Regions from separate parts of the Homo sapiens genome. Here region 2 is linked to region 1. The links are contacts of gene promoters, found by promoter capture Hi-C in blood cells and fetal thymus (Javierre and others, 2016). All regions are on one chromosome and are shown on one strand. The core of a region is centred on a gene start or on the middle of the fragment in contact, and the rest is flanking DNA. Distances in the headings are between cores, read along the strand shown. Region 1 holds the start of TMEM108-AS1 (TMEM108 antisense RNA 1). Region 2 overlaps NPHP3-AS1 (NPHP3 antisense RNA 1).

The links. Contacts are between HindIII fragments. The CHiCAGO score rates a contact against its expected background, and 5 or more counts as called.
Region 2: a fragment that was not itself captured here is called in contact with the fragment with the promoter of TMEM108-AS1 in region 1 in 1 of 17 cell types (M1 macrophages); the score reaches 5.6 in M1 macrophages.

Annotation. Positions count from the first base shown.
Region 1 is chr3:133,255,610-133,258,847 of GRCh38, reverse strand. TMEM108-AS1 (TMEM108 antisense RNA 1) reads left to right here and starts at 1,727. Exons shown (of 3, transcript NR_110812.1): 1 at 1,727-1,823. The region is part of intron 3 of TMEM108 (transmembrane protein 108); the gene reads right to left. The HindIII fragment of the contact is 5,600 bases long and covers 1,397-3,238 here.
Region 2 is chr3:132,775,187-132,778,329 of GRCh38, reverse strand. The region is part of intron 3 of NPHP3-AS1 (NPHP3 antisense RNA 1); the gene reads right to left. It overlaps LOC105374115 (a long non-coding RNA gene), which reads left to right. Exons shown (of 3, transcript XR_924500.3): 3 at 1-1,624. Among named protein-coding and RNA genes, the nearest start is that of NPHP3-ACAD11, 54 kb to the right of the region's middle. The HindIII fragment of the contact is 3,795 bases long and covers 1-3,143 here.

The DNA.
Region 1 (3,238 bases), core at 478-2,977:
TTGCCTACATAACAATTCTAAGAATAAACTTTTTCTCTTGGATAACGTTCTTCAGGCCATGAGGTATGCTCACCTGGTTCCCTCTCCAACTCTCTCTCTGTCTGAATGAAGAGTTCCTTTTGCTTCATGCAAAGTTTTGGGGATGACCACTGAGTCAGAGTGGATACAGTCTGAAGAGGATGAAGAATAGCAGTATGAGGCAGTGGTGATGCCAAACAGCTCTGAATGCTGACTGGTTCTAGGGAATGCACCTCTCTGCCCTCTGAGCTGCAGGGACAGGGAGATGAGCTGGCAGCAGCTGCCTCAGAGATAAGGATGTGAGACACAAACACCTAAGGAATTCCTTTGGACTTCCATCACCCCCCTCCATCCAACTTTATCAAAAGCGAGGTGGTGTGGGCAGCTGGCTCCTTTCAGCCTGGGCCCACCACATGGTATGCTTTCCTGCCTTCACAACATGCCCTTCTTGTAGCTTGATGGAAACTATGGTGAGGATCTTAGTCTGTTAGGGCTGCTATAATAAAATACCAAACAACAGCAATTTACTTCTCATAGTTTTGGAAGCTGAGAAGCCCAAGATCAAGGTGCCAGCAGACTCAGTTTCTGGTGAGGGCCCGCTGGCTGGTTCATAGACCATACCTTCTCACCATGTCTTCAAACGGAGGAAGGGGTGAGAAAGCTCCTTAAGGTCTCTTTTATAAGGGCATTAATCCCATTCACGAGGGATCCACCCTCATGACCTAATCACCTCCCAAAGGCCCCACCTCCAAATACCATCACATTGGGCTTCAGGTTTCAACATATGAATTTGGGGGGATCATAAACATACAGTCTACAGCAGGTTATAAATGGTATTTTCACTATGGGACTCAGGAGCATCTGAATCCTGTCCTACCCATCTCCCTTTAAAGGAGATACATAAAGCAACCCCTCCTTTAGCAAAAATTTTCTGGGCCTCTGGCTTCTTCCAAACAGGGATAGCTCAGTGTTATACACTAAGTAAGTTGTTGCATGAAAAATAAAAAAGAAAAGCCCCTGCACCTGTCTTTCTCAACAGACAACTGGCTGAAGTTTACAACTAGGCAGTATCTACTCCACTTAGTTTAGATACACTACTTAACTACCAGAGAGTTTCATCCCTTTTCATTTGCTCCTTTACTCAGTAACAGCTCTCAAAGATGGGGAAGGAAGAGAGGCATATCTAAGTTTTTAATATTAGTCTAATTTGCCAACTTAAGCTTTCAAATACCACTGAATAAATGACAAGTAGATTCACTGAATTTAGAGGGAGAAACACAATACTTCTTTAGGTTTTGTTTCAGGGGGATCAAGTTTTAAGAGGCAGTGAAATGAAGTCAGGTTCAACTGTTCCAAATTTCTAGACACGAGCAAAGCTTAAGCCATGCAACAATGTATTGCTTTTCTAAGGATTATTAATAATGCATTTGTAACTACTCAGAGACTGGCAATAAACTTTCAGAGAGTGAATAAGAATGTAATCTGTCCACAGCAACATAGACAAATTACTTTGATAAATTCTTTACGAGGGTGCCTCATCTCCTGCAATTCTTGGATTGGTTACAAGTCTATAGTTAATCCTTCAATAACTCCCACAAGCACCTCATTACTCATAATACTGTGACATCCTGAGTTGTAAAAGAGGTGCTGTTATATAACACAGGCACTGTATAGCAGCCTTAGGTTATGAATATTAAGAGACAATCTCAAATGAGATAATATCAATAAAGACCTCCTGTCGTCTCTACCCAAGAAATAAACTAAAGGAAGGCAGTGTCCTTGCAGGCATTTTGACATCAGGGATGGTAAGTACAGGCACTGTTTCCCTTTCAGTTTCATGATTGTCATCCCTCTCACCAAGCCATGACTTTAGAACTATGTTCACGGGTAAGACTGACTCAGTAATTTTACTTTCTCATACTATCATTTTCTGGCTTTTGCATTAAGGTTATAGTAATTTCATGAAGTGAATTGTGGAGCACTTAACTGGCTAGTTTGGTCCATTTACATTTACTGTGCTTACTGACATTTGGATTTATTTCTGCCTTGTCCTACTTATCCAGATTTCTCTATATCTATTTTCCCCTTCTTGATTGCCTTCCTTTGGACTGAGTTTTTTCTTTCTTATTCTAATAGTTCTGTTTTACTGGTTTGGAAGTTATGAATTCTATGTCTTTTAGTAGTTTCCTTGAAATTTTGCCATGCCTACTAAAACTTGACTATGCCTAAGTTAATTGATATATTTTCCATCCTAACAATACAAGGAATTTATAAGACTTTGATTCTCTTCATCCCCTCCCAACTTAACTGCTATTATTGTCTAGTATATTTATTCTGTGTTGTTTTTCATTAACCCCACATATTAGACATTATTATATGTTTCATACAGAAAATGTTTGCTTGGGTTGACTACTATGTTTGCCAATTTCTTTGCTGGCTATTCCTTCTTATATTTAAGACCTTGTTTCTCAGAAGAAATGTTCTTTTTCCTGAGGCATATCTTTTAGAAGTTCTGTAAATGAATGTCCATCTGTGAAAATGTTCTACTTTAAAAAATATCTGAAAATGTCTTTATTTTACCCTCGTGCTTTAATGATTATTTGATCAGATCTTTAATTCCAAGTTGCTGGTTGTTTTCTATCAGCATTTTAAAGATATTATTTCACTGTCTCCTTGATTCTGTGGTGGCTGTTGAGAAGTCAACCATCAGTTTAAATATTATTCCTTTATAAGGAACATTTTCCTCTGGCTGCTTTTAGGATTATCTCTTTATTTGCTGTTTTTATAACCAGGCATGCATGCAGTTCTTGTTGTTTATTTATTTATTTATTTTTGAGAAGGAGACTCACTCTGTCAGCCAGTGCAGAGGCTGGAGTGCAGTGGCATGATCTCGGCTCACTGCAAGCTCCGCCTTCTAGGTTCAAGCAATTCTCCTGCCTCAGCCTCTTGAGTAGCTGGGATGACAGGCGTGCACCACCATGCCTGTCTAATTTTTATATTTTTAGTAGAGATGGGGTTTTACCATGTTGGCCAGGTTGGTCTTGAACTGCTGACCTCAGGTGATCTATCCACCTCGGCCACCCAAAGAGCTTGGATTACAGGCGTGAGCCACCACGCCCAGCCCTTATTATTTTTGAGACTCACAGTATTCCCAGAATCTGAGTATGCATATCTTTCATACATTCTAGAAAATATTCTAAGCCATTATGTTTTCAAATAC
Region 2 (3,143 bases), core at 554-3,053, 480 kb after region 1:
TAAAGACAAGAGGCAAACAAAGATCTAAGAATTCTTGGCAGCACAGAGCATCTTGCTGCATTTTCAGGCAATGAAGTCTATCAGCTAAAGTAGTGGATTCTGCATAAGAACACATGGGTTTGAGTCTTGGTTCTTTGACCTCCTGGCTGTAACTTCTTAGGAGGTCATTTAATCTTCATCATAATTTGTTTCCTCATCTATGAAAATAGGACTTTGCCTTGGAGATCTCTATGGTGACTTTCAGCTCTAAGTTCTGTGATTCCAAGCATCTCAATCAATATGTATATTATTATCATTTTGGAGACGACCATATTACCATTTGTTTCCACTTCATGCTACTACTTAAAAGCATATCAAAAATCTCTTATAACTCAATAAGAGAAAGGGCAATTAAAAAATGAGTAAAAGATCTGAGTAGACATTTATCCAAATAAGATAATATACAAATGGAAAATAACCATATGAAAAGATGCTCAACAGACAGACAGAGAAGAAGGATGGTTACCAGAGCCTGGGAACGGTACTGGGGGCTAGAGGAGAGCTAGCGATGATTAATGGGTACAAAAAAGAGTTAGAAAGAATGAATAAGGTCTACTATTTGATAAGCACAATAAAGTGACTATGGTCAGCAATAACAATTGTACATTTTAAAAATAATGAATGTAACTGGATTGTTTGTAACTCGAAGGATAAATACTTGAGGGGATGGATACTCCATTCTTCATGACATGCTTATTTCACATTGCATGCCTGTATCAAAACATCTCATGTACCCCATAAATATATACACCCACTATGTACCCACAAAAAAATTTAAAAATTAAAAAAAAATTTTAAAGATGCTCAACATTATTATCATCAGATAAATGCCATTCAAAACCACAACGAGATACCACTTCATACCCCTTAGAATGACTAAAATAAAAAAGACTGACAATAACACGTGTTGTGGAGGATGTGGGAAGAACTCAGAATCCCAATACATAGCTAGTGGGATTGTAAAATTATGCAGCTGCTTAGAAAACAGTTTAGCAATTCCTCAGTTAAACATAGACGTTCTACATAACCCAACAGTTCTACTTCTAGATGTATACCCAAGAGAATTGAAAACATTAAGTTAAAAAAGTTCTACACAAATGTTCATAGCAACACTATTCACAGCAGCTAAAACGTGGAAACAATACAAACATCTATCAATGATGAATGGGTAAATAAAATGTGGTCTTACCCATACAATAGAACATTCTTCAATAATAAAAAGAATGATATATGAATACACATTACAATATGGATGAACCTCCAAAATGTACTAATTGAGAGAAGACAGTCACAAAAACTACATATTTTATGATTCCATATTTATGAAGTGTCCAGAAGAGGCAAATCCATAGACACAGAAAGTAGTTTCCTGGTTACCTAGGGCTGGAAACACTTTGGGGAAGTGGAGGAGGGGTGTGATTGCTAAAGGGTATAGGTTTCTTTTGAGATGCTGAAAATATTCTGAAATTAATTGTGGTGACAGTCGCACAATTTTGCAAATATACTGAAAATCATTAAATTATGCTAAAAATGGGTGAGCTGTATGGTATGTAAATTAGATCTCAATAAAGCTGTTACAAAGAAACAACAGTATATCTGAACTTTCTCCCCTGCACCACCTCTCCTCTCATCATATCCAGTGACAATCAATGAGATACTGAACTAATGCCTTGACAACTATAGTAGTCTGGAATGATAGTGCCATCCTACTGTATCTCATTCATTATTTTAATACTCAAGCAATTTGGATGCAGTATAGACGGCCAACACATAATTCTATGTTGCTGTTATTCAAACCCAAACTCCTAACAGAAGACATTTCTAGGTCTTATTCGCTCTTCTTTTTTTTTTTTAGACAGAGTCTCACTCTGTCACCCAGGCTGGAGTGCAGTGGCGCGATCTCAGCTCACTGTAACCTCTACCTCCCAGGTTCAAGCGATTCCCGTGCCTCAGCCTCCCAAGAAGCTGGGATTACAGGCATGTGCCACCACTCCTGGCTAATTTTTGTATTTTTGGTAGAGACGAGGTTTCACTGAGTCACCCAAGCTGGTCTCAAAATCCTGAGTTCGAGTGATCCGCCCACCTTGGCCTCCCAGGCAAGAGCCACTGTGCCTGGCTTTTTTTTTTTTTTTTTTTTCTTACTCATTAACCACTCCCACCTCTCTCCCACCCCCCACTACCCTTCCCAGCCTCTGGTAACCATCCTTCTATTCTCGATCTCCATGAGTTCAATTGTTTTGATTTTTAGATCCCACAAATAAGTGAGACACAACAGGGGGCCTATAGTCAATAATATTTTAATTGCACCTTTTAAAATAACTAAAGGAGTGTAATTAGATTGTTTGTAGCACAAAGGATAAATGCTTGAGGGAATAGATACCTAATTTTTTCATGATGTGGTTATTACGCATTGCATGTCTGTACCAAAATATCTCATGTACCCCATAAATATATATACCTATGTAATCACAAAAATTAAAAATAAAAAAATACATATTCTAGAAAGACATTTACTAAGATGAATGCTAGAAGCTGGCTTTTTAAAAATTTTTATACTGGAAGTGACCATTGTCAGTTAATGGCACATGATGAATTGGGCATAAACAGGACATCCACAGAATGAGCAAACATTTTTCAATTCTTTCTTTAATCCTTGAATTCATTCAGTGTGAATTTTTAAACTGAATATGAGGGTTTGCAAAAGGAAACTTTATCCTTTCTGAAGCTCACTAATTTTTAAGTTCACACACATAAAAATGATGCTTTGAAAACCTTCGCTAAATTATGCACATGAAAATAAACAACAATCTAGGAAGCAAATTTCTCAAAGTCTACAATGATGAGGCTAATCACAATCATAAATTGAGCCTTATAGAGCACGCCAAATGTCTGCAGCAATTACACCTACCTGTTTCATTTGCCCGAGCTTCAGGTAGGCCAAAAGACATTCACTGTGAAAGTCACCATGACTGATTTTTCTTTAATCAAATCAGAAATGTAAATTTCCTTTTCTAATAACACAGGGCCAGAGGAGATGATTTTCATTATAGAAAGGGCTGTGGATGCATGAGGACATTCTAGAAATCTGGGCCAAATAGTATTTT